Regions from separate parts of the Homo sapiens genome. Here region 1 is linked to region 2. Evidence: promoter capture Hi-C in human tissues and cell types (Jung and others, 2019). All regions are on one chromosome and are shown on one strand. The core of a region is centred on a gene start or on the middle of the fragment in contact, and the rest is flanking DNA. Distances in the headings are between cores, read along the strand shown.

What was found. The method cuts DNA at HindIII sites, captures the fragments that hold promoters and counts their contacts. A contact is called where the count stands out against the background at its distance.
Region 1: a fragment that was not itself captured here is called in contact with the fragment with the promoter of MANBAL in region 2 in 1 of the 25 tissues and cell types used here (mesenchymal stem cells).

The regions. Positions count from the first base shown.
Region 1 is chr20:37,782,628-37,787,784 of GRCh38, forward strand. All of the region lies in intron 10 of CTNNBL1 (catenin beta like 1), which reads left to right. Among named protein-coding and RNA genes, the nearest start is that of CTNNBL1, 91 kb to the left of the region's middle. RefSeq lists enhancers at 3,116-3,617, 3,618-4,117. The HindIII fragment of the contact is 3,918 bases long and covers 774-4,691 here.
Region 2 is chr20:37,287,390-37,292,267 of GRCh38, forward strand. It overlaps MANBAL (mannosidase beta like), which reads left to right and starts at 2,266. Exons shown (of 3, transcript NM_001003897.2): 1 at 2,266-2,297. RefSeq lists enhancers at 2,054-2,163, 2,236-3,140, 4,369-4,478. The HindIII fragment of the contact is 10,035 bases long and covers 1-4,878 here.

The DNA of each region.
Region 1 (5,157 bases), core at 1,483-3,982, 500 kb after region 2:
TTTTATTTAACATAGTAAGTCAAAAATTATTTCAACATGTAATCAATATGACAAAATTATTAGTAAGCCATTTCACATTCATTTTTTGAGACTAAGTTTTCAAAATCCAGTGAACATTTTACATTTACATCCCAATTCAGATGCTAAATTTTCATCAGAATGCTTGATTTGTATTTAGATTTCATAAAATTTAGAGTTGAAAACATAGATTCTCATACTTAAGTTTGTCCAAAGATACTTAAATGTTTTCCAATAAGTCCAGTATCAATTTTTAAATTTTAAACTTAAATTTATTTAAATTATATTTAAAATTTAGTTTCTCAGTTACAATAGCCACATTTCAGATGCTCAGTAGCTACACAGTGTCTACCATATAGGATGATGTATATACAGATTCTTTTTATCACTCCCAAAGGTTCCCTTGCATGCCGCCAGGCCTGGCTAATTTTTTAAAAATATTTTTGGCAGAGACAGGATTTCACCATGTTGCCCAGGCTGATCTTGAACTCCTGAGCTCAAGCTATCCACCTTTCTTGGCCTCCCAAAGTGCTGGAATTACATGTGTGAGCCATTGCACCTGGCCAAATGCCTCCTTTTTCATTTCCGGTTTTTATTTATTTGATCCTCTCTCTTTTTTTCTTAATCTGGCTAAAGGTTTATTGATTTTGTTTATCTTTTGAAACCTAACTTTTAATTTTGTTGATCTTTTTTATCTTTTTTTGTTTGTTTCATTTATTTCTGCTCTGATCTTTATTATTTCTCTTCGTCTACTAATTATGGGTTTGGTTGGCTCTTACTTTTCTAATTCTTTAAGATGTATTGTTAGGTTGTGTATTTGAAGTTTTTCTACTTTTTTGTTGTAGGTGCTTATTGCTATGAACTTTCCTCTTAATACTGCTTTTGTTGTATCCCATAAATTTTGGTATGTTGTGTTTCCATTTTCATTTGCTTCAGACTGTTTTAATTTCTTTCTTAATTTCTTCATTGGCCCACTGGTTATTCAAGAGCATATTGTTTAATTTCTGTTTGAATAGTTTCTGGAATTCCTCTTGTTATTGATTTCTAGTTTTTTTCCATTGTGATCAGAGAAGATACTTGACAGAATTTCAGTTTTCTTGTATTTTTAAAGAATTGTTTTGTGGCCTAACACATGAACTATTCTTGAGAATGACCCATGTGCTAAGGAGAAGAATGTGTATTCTGCAGCTTTTGGATGATATGGTTTGTCACTATCTATTAAGTCCATTTAGTCTATACTGCAGATGAAGTTTGATGTTTGTTGATTTTCTGTCTGGATGTTTGATCCAGTGCTGAAAGTGGGGTGTTGAAGTCTCCAGCTTTTATTGGGATCTGTCTCTCCCTTTAGCTCTAATAATATTTGCTTTATCTATCTGGGTGCTCCAGTGTTGGGTGCATATATATTTATAATTGTTATATTCTTTTGCTGAATGGGTCCCTTTACCGTTATGTAATGACCTTCTTTGTCTCTTGGTCTAATTTTTGTCTTGCTATCTATTTTGTCTGATTTAAGTCCAGTTCCTCTTGCTCTCTTTTGGTTTTCATTTGCATAGAATATCTTTTTCCATCCTTTTATTTTCAGCCTATATGTGTCTTCATAGGTGAAGTGTGTTTCTTGTAGGCAATGGATTGTTGAGTCCCATTTTTTTAATCCATTCAGCCACTCTATATCTTGTGACTGGAGAGTTTCGTCCATTTATATTCCATATTATTATTGATAAGTAAGGACTTAATCCTGCCATTTTGTTATTTGTTTTCTGGTTGTTTTGTGGTGTTTCCTTCTCTTTGTGAAGGTGATTTTCTCATATGGTATGTTTTAGTTTCTTGCATTTTATTGTTTGTGTATCTGTTGCATGTCTCTTGACATTACCATGAGGCTTGCAAATACTATTTAATAACCCATTATTTTAAACTGATGACAGGCTTAACACTGATTGCAGAAACAAACTGACAAGCAAAGAGAAAACTAATAAAAACTCTACACTTTAACTTCACCCTTCCACTTTTTAACTTTTTGTTGTTTCTGTTTATATCTTATTATACGGTCTATGTCTTGAAAAGTTGTTGTAATTATTTTAATAGGTTCATCTTTTAGTCTTTCTGCTCAAGGTATGTGTAGTTTATACGCCACAATTACAGTGTTATAATATTCTGTGTTTTTCTGTGTACTTATGGTTACCAGTGGGTTTTGTACCTTCAGGTGATTTCTTATTGCTCATTGGCATCCTTTTCTTTCAGATTGAAGAACTACCTTTAGCATTTCTTGTAGGATGGGTCTGGTGTTGATGAAATCCCTCAGCTTTTGTTTGTCTGGGAAAGTCTTTATTTCTCCCTCATGTTTGGAGGATATTTTCACTAGATATACTATTCTAGGGTAAAATATAGTTCCTTCAGCACTTTAAATATGTCATGCCACTCTTCCCCTTTAAATATGTCATGCCACTCTTCCCTGGCCTGTAAGGTTTCCACTGAGAAGTCTGCTGCCAGACATATTGGAACTCCATTGTATATATTATTTCTTTTCTCTTGCTGCTTTTAGGATCCTTTGTTTATCCTTGACATTTGGGAGTTTGGTTATTAAATGCCTTGAGGTAGTCTTCTTTGGGTTAAATCTGCTTGATGGGGTTTTGTAACCTTTTGTTCTTGCATATTGATATCTTTCTCTAAGTTTGGGAAGTTCTCTCTGATTATCCCTTGGAAAAGACTTTCTACCCCAATATCTCTATCTCCTCTTTAAGGCCAGTAACTATTTGATTTGCCCTTTTGAGGCTATTGTCTAGATCTTGTAGGTGTGCTTCGTTCTTTCTTATTCTTTTTTTCTTTTGTCTTTGACTGTATTTTCAAATAGCCTGTCTTCAAGCTTACTAATTCTTTCTTCTCCTTTATCAGTTCTGCTGTTAAGAGACTCTGATGCATTCTTCAGTATGTTGCATTTTTCTGCTTGATTCATTTTAACTATTTCAATATCCGTAAAATGTAATAGGATTTTGCGTTCCTTCTGTGTTATCTCAAATTTCATAAAGCTTCCTCAAAACGCTATTTTGAATTTTTTATCTGAAAGCTCACATATCTCTGTCTTGCTGGCATTGTCACTGGTCTCTTACTTAGTTCATTTGTTGAGGTCATGTTTTCTTGGACGGTCTTGATGCTTATGGATCTTTGTCGGTGTCTGGGCATTGAAGAGTTAGGTATTTATTGTAGTCTTTGCAGTCTGGGCTTGTTTGTATTCATCCTTCTTGGGAAGGCTTTCCAGGTATTTAGAGAGTCTTGGGTGTTGTGATTTAAGTCTTTGGTCACAGCAGCTGTGTCTGCATTAGGGGGCATCCCAAGCTCAGTAACACTCTGGCTCTTGTAGACTTGTAGAGGTACCACCTTGGTGGTGTTGGGTAAAATCGAAGAGAATTCCCTGGATTACTAGGCAGAAACTCTTGTTCTCTTCCCTGACTTTTCCCCAAACACGTGGAGTCTCTCTCTCTCTCTGTGCTGAGCTGCCTGGTGCTGGGGGAGGGGTGAGACAAGCAAGCACCACTGTGGCCACCACTGGGACTGTGCTGGGTCATTCCTGAAGCCAGCACAGCACTTGGTTTCACCCAAGGCTCACATTGACCACTGCCTGGCTGCTGCCTGTGTTCATTCATGGCCCAAAGGCTCTACAGTCAACAGGTGGCAAGTCCAGCCAGGCTTGTGTCCTTCCCTTCAGGACAGCAAGTTCCCCCCAGCCCCAGGCAGCTCTACAGATGCCATCTGAGAGCCAGAGCCTGGACTTGGGAACCTTAGAAATCTACCTGATGCTTTACTCTATTGCGACTGAGCTGGCACCAATTGGATTTGTTTTTTTTGGAGGGCATCTTTTTTTAGAGAACCAACTCTTGGTTTTGATATAAATATGCATATGTATGTGTGTACATATATATATATATGCATATATGTGTGATATAAATATGCATATGTGTATTTGTATATATATGGTCTACAATGCTTGTAGCATTTTGTATATTTGTATACCTTTCCCCCGCCTTTAATTCTTTTTTTCTACTTTTTTGTTTATTCTGTTGCCCTTTTTCCAAGTTTGTGAGTTAAACGCTTAATGCTTTAAAAAATAATTCTCTTATTTAAAAATAAAAACATTTCAGGTTAAAAAATCTCCTTTTAATATTGCTTAGTTTTATTCTCTATTCCCAAGTGATTAAGTCTTATTTTCCTATTACATTAACAGAAAATAGAGGCTATAAAATACATTTCTGAATTTGAGATTTTGTTTGTGGCCTTATACTTGGGTAGTTTTTATAAATATTCCGTGAACATTTGAATAGAATTTGTGTTTCTAGGGTATAAAGTACTATAATTATAACATAAATCAACTTTGTAAACATATTCCGTTCTTTTCTGTCCTTTTTATCCCCTAATTTGTTTAGTCTCTAACTATGGTTGTGGATTTTTTTTTTTCTGTTTCTTCTGATCCTTCCTATATCCTTAGCATTTTTTTTTTTTTTAAGAGACAGGATTCCACTATGTTGCCCAGGCTGAAGTGCAGTGGCTGTTCACAGGAGGCAATCACAGTGCACTGCAGCGTTGAAGTCTTGGGATATGATGATCCTTCCAAGTAGCTGAGATTATAGGCACCTGCTACCACACACCTTTACTTTTTATGTCATTTTGTGTTACGTGTAACTCTTGTTAAAGACACATAACTGTGTGTTTTTTTTTTTTTTTTTTTGAGACGGAGTCTCGCTCTGTCGCCCAGGCTGGAGTGCAGTGGCGGGATCTCGGCTCACTGCAAGCTCCGCCTCCCGGGTTCACGCCATTCTCCTGCCTCAGCCTCCCAAGTAGCTGGGACTACAGGCGCCCGCCACTACGCCCGGCTAATTTTTTGTATTTTTAGTAGAGACGGGGTTTCACCGTTTTAGCCGGGATGGTCTCGATCTCCTGACCTCGTGATCCGCACGCCTTGGCCTCCCAAAGTGCTGGGATTACAGGCGTGAGCCACCGCGCCCGGCCCATAACTGTGTTTTTTAATCCAGCGTGAAAGTTTGTCTTTCAGTAGATGAATTTAACTATTTGATTTTATAGTAATTACGTTTAGCCCTTTTCCTGTTTGTTTTATGGTTTCCTTGGTTGTTTTATTGTTTTGTCTTATCT
Region 2 (4,878 bases), core at 1,016-3,515:
GCTAATTTTTTGGGTATTTTTTGTAGAGACGGGGTTTCGCCATGTTGCCCAGGCTGATCTCAAACTCCTGGGCTCAAGCAATCTGTCCACCTTAGCTTCCCAAAGTGCTGGGATTATAGACGTGAGCCACCACTCTTCATTTCTTACCAGAAATGTGATCTCATGGACGTCTTCCCTCATCACCTCTCTTTTGATTGTATCTCCCATGTTATTGCTTCTCTCATGGCTCCCCCTTCTTCCTTCCCAACACATCTCATGGTTTTTAAGTGTACATTTATCTGTGTGATTGATTAGTGGGGGTGACAGACATTGACCCCTAGTCTATAAGCACAGTCAGGGTAGGATCCCACCTACTCACCATTGTCTTCCCAGTTTCATAGTGCATGATCCAGAGTAGAAACTCCATAAATATTTTTTAAATGAATAAATTATGCATTTTGGGTCCCCCATGCCACCTCACATAGTATGGGATTAGTGAATGTTGAGTGTATTATTTGTCTTCTAAGAGACTGAATTCCTTTAGGGCAAGATAGGTCTCTCTCTCTCTCTTTTTTTTTTTTGGAGTCTCTGGTATCTAACCTCTGTTCCTTGATCCTCTATGTATGTTATCTAGGCTGCATAACCAATTATCCTAAAACTTAGGAGCTTAAAACAATAACATTTAGTATTTCACAATTTCTGTGAGGCAGGCATTCAAGTGGCATTGCAAGGTATTTCTGGCTCAAGGTTGCTCTTGAGTTTACACTGAAGATTTTGGCCAGGCCACAGTCATTTGAAAGCTTGACTAGGACTGCTGGAGCCACTTGGCTCATACACATGGCTGGCAAGTTGGAGCTGGTTGTTGGCAGGCAGCTCAGTTACTCCCCATGCGAGCCTCTCCATAGGACTGCTTGAGTGTCTTCACAACATGGATTCCCCATGAGCAATCAAGACAGAGGAAAGAGGAAGTTGCAATGTCTTTTATGACTTTATCTTGGAACTCGTGCTCCAAGATTTCCGCAATATCCTATGGGTTATACAGGTCAGTCTTATTCTTGGTGGGAGGTGACTACAGAGGGGTATGGATATCAGGAGCCAAGAATCGTCAGGGTTTATGGTGGAGGCTGGTTATCACACTCTCATCTAGGTTTCTTTTTCTCCTACTACTTGCCCCCCACCCCTTCTTAATCATGGAACACTGTTCTTTGCCTTCAAAAAACTTATCCTGTTATATGATTACACATTCATTTAATTAGTCTGTCTCCCTCCAACGGACTGTAAGCACCACAAGGGCAGAGACTGTATGTGTCTGCTTTAGCACTGTGTCCTCAGTTACAAGGACAAAGCATAGAGTACGCGCTCAGTGAATGCTTTTTGAATGAATTATAATGATTTGCTTCTGTCTGAATTACAAGAGGTGTTTCTGTTTGTCTCCTCTCTGCATTGTAGGCTCCTAGCTCAGGACCTGGCATAAAATTAAGGAAATGAACGTGAGAAACACTTTTGAAATAGTGACAACACATCCAGATGAACATTTTGCAGGACAGCTACACACCCGTTTTAGCTCACCAGCTACCAGTTGTGACTGTGCTCTGCTCTGGGAGATGGCTTAGCTTTGCATAGGACAAAATTCTAATCTAGTTTCGCGCAGTTCTTACGAATTTGTTACAATGAGACGGGCCAAGCTATACAGCCCATTGCGATGAATAAGTAACTTTTTTTTTTTTTTTTTTTTTTTTTTGAGGAAGAGTCTCATTCTGTCGCCCAGGCTGGAGTGCAGTGGCGCGATCTCGGCTCACTGCAACTTCTGCCTCCCGGGATTCAAGAGATTCTCTTGCCTCAGCCTCCCAAGCAGCTGGGATTACAGGCGCCCGCCACCACGCCCGGCTAATTTTTGTATTTTTGGTAGAGACGGGGTTTCACCATGTTGACCAGGCTGGTCTCGAACTCCTGACCTCAAGTGATCCGTCCGCCTCGGCCTCCCAAAGTGCTGGGATTACAGGCGTGAGCCACCGTGCCCAGCCCCGAGAAGTAATTTCTTTTGTTTTCTTTTTAATTAAACAAAAATGTTGCTGAAACGAGCTGAGTGATATAGGAGCTTAAAGAATTGACAAGCTCTAGATTTCATTTCCCCAAACCTCTTTGTCCAGCTCGAACCCACAGAACAGGGACAAAAGTCGACAAAACCCAGCGGTGCCTCACCCAGAAACCTGGCAACGCGGGCGGAACAGAGCCGGTTGGTTGCTCAGTGCGCGTCACTTCCGGGACTCAGGGTCGCAGGGAACTACTTCCGGGGGAGCGGCGCGGCGGCGCGGGAGGTGAGTGCCGCAGCTTTGCGGTGGGGTGGGAACCGAGAGAGAGCCGTCCTCGGTGCGGTGGCCTGGCTTTCCCGGCCGGCCTGTCTCCAGCGGCGCCGCTTGGTGGGCCCGGCTGTCGCTCCGCTCAGGGCCTGAATACGTTCCCTCGGCGGTTGTTCGAAAGTTACTTCCGGAGGGGAATTTGAGCCCCCCGGGAGGCGGAGGGCCTCGCCTGGGGCAGCCCTGCGCTTTCGTGCGGAGGCTGGGCCAGAACCCAGGGCTCCTCATGGCCTGGTCCGGGCCTTTCCTCCCACGGGTGGAGCAGTAGGAGAACCCTGAGCTCCAGAGTGAATCTGGCCAGGGTTCGAATCCGTATGGCTCTCTTACCGTGGGCAAGTCACGGTTCCTCTCTGGCCCTCAGTTTCGTCTTCTAAAATGGACATACACGCTTGTACTGCGGGGTAAACCGAGGTGGTGAATGTAAAGCCCTTAGTAGGTGCACAGTCCATGTTTGTTGTACGAATTCTAAGAGAAGCGAGAAATGAATATGAGAAACATTTTTAAAATGGTGACAACACATTTAGATTAATAATTATATTTTGCAGGGCATCTGCACACCAGTTTCAGCCCACCGGCTACCAGTGTGACTTTGCCCAGAGAGGTGGCTTAGCTTTGCATTCTAATCTAGTTTTGCGTGGTTCTTAGGAATTTGTTTTAATGGGACGGGCCAGGCTGTACAACCCATTGCCATAAAGCGGTAACTTCTTTTTCTTTCCTTTTTTTTTTTTTAAAGCCATTCTATTTATTTATTTAGAGACGGAGTCTCTCTCTCGTCCACGCTGAAGGGCAGTGGCGGGATCTTGGCTCACTGCAACCTCCGCTTCTTGGGTTCAAGCGATTCTCCTGCCTCAGCTTTCCGAATAGCTGGGATTACAGACGTGTGCCACCACGCCCGGCTAATTTTTGTATCTTTAGTAAAGACAGGGTTTCACCATGTTGGCCAGGCTGGTCTCAAACTCCCGACCTCAGGTGATCCACCCGCCTCGGCCTCCCAGAGTGTTGGGATTATAGGCGGGAGCCACCACACCCGGCTTTTTTTTCTTTTTAATTAAAAAAAAGTTGAAATAGAGATGGAGTCTCACTATGTTTTCCTGCCTGGTCTTGAACTCCTGGAGGCAAGATATCCTTCCTCCTGGACCTCCCAAAGTGTTTGGGATTACTGGCAAGAGCCACTGTGCCTGGCCTAAAACAGTAACTTCTGACACTGGTTTCTATTCCCCAGTCTGTTTTCAGCTGAATTTTCACAATAGAATTTAAAGTTACTTCATTAGAAGCCAAGAATGGCCTACCAGCACAGTACACAACATTGGGAGATGAAGGCCTGTGGCAGTCGTGAAATCTGAGTTTTTCAGTCTTAAGAGAAGATTTAGTATTTGCTAAGTCTTGAGAGCTATACTTGTCTCAGTGGTTTTTTATTTATTTGTTTTGAAATGTTGACCCATTCTTTTTTTCCCCAATAACCTTTTTGTTTTAGAATAATTTTAGATTTACAAAGTTATCGCAAAGATACTTCAGTGAGTGCCCATATAGCCCACGTTTCCCCTATTACTAATATCTGAAATGTCACAATTACTGAACCAATATTGATACATTATTATTAACTCTAATCTGTACTTTATTCACATTTCCTTAGTTTTTCCCTAATGTCCTTTTTCTGTCCTGGTATTATCCAGGGCACCCTATTACATTTAGTCATCATATCTCTTTAGGCTCATCATCTCTGTGATCGTTTCTCAGACTTCCCTTGTTTTAGATGAACTTGAGGGTTTTGAAGATAGTACTGACTGGTCAGATATTTTGCAGAAGGACCTTTAATTAGGATTTGCCTGTTTTTGACATGAGTAAGATCAGGGTAATGGGTTTTTGGGGAGGAGGACCACTGATAGGGTTCGGCTGTGTCCCCACCCAAATCTCATCTTGAATTGTAGCTCCCATAATCCCCCCATGTTGTGGGAGGGTCCTGGTGGGAGACAATTGAATCATGGGGGTGGGTCTTTCCCATGCTATTCTCCTGATAGTGAATAAGTCTCAGGAGATCTGATGGTTTTATAAAGGGCAGTTCCCCTGCACACACTCTCTTGCCTGCTGTCACATAAGACATGCCCTTGCCTCCCCTTTGCCTTTTGCCGTGATTGTGAGGCCTACCCACCCATGTGGAACCGTGAGTCCGTTAAACCTCTTTTTCTTTATTAATTACCCAGTCTCGGGTATTTCTTCAAAGTGGTATGAAAATGGACTAATCCAACCACAGAAGTAAAGTGCTATTCTCATCACATCATATCAAGGGTACATACTATCGATATGAGTTATCATTGTTGACATCTGTTAGCTTGAGCCACCTGGCTTGAGGTAGTAGTCAGGCTTTTCCAGTGTAGAGTTACTTTTCCTCCTGCACTTTCCGCACTGTACTTTTGGAGAAAGTCATTATGTACAGCACACATTTAAGGAGTGTGGAATTATGCCCCATGCTTAAAGGCAGAGTATATAATGCAAATTATTTGGAGTTCTCTGTGGGAAATTTGTCTGTTCCCCTATTTTTTGC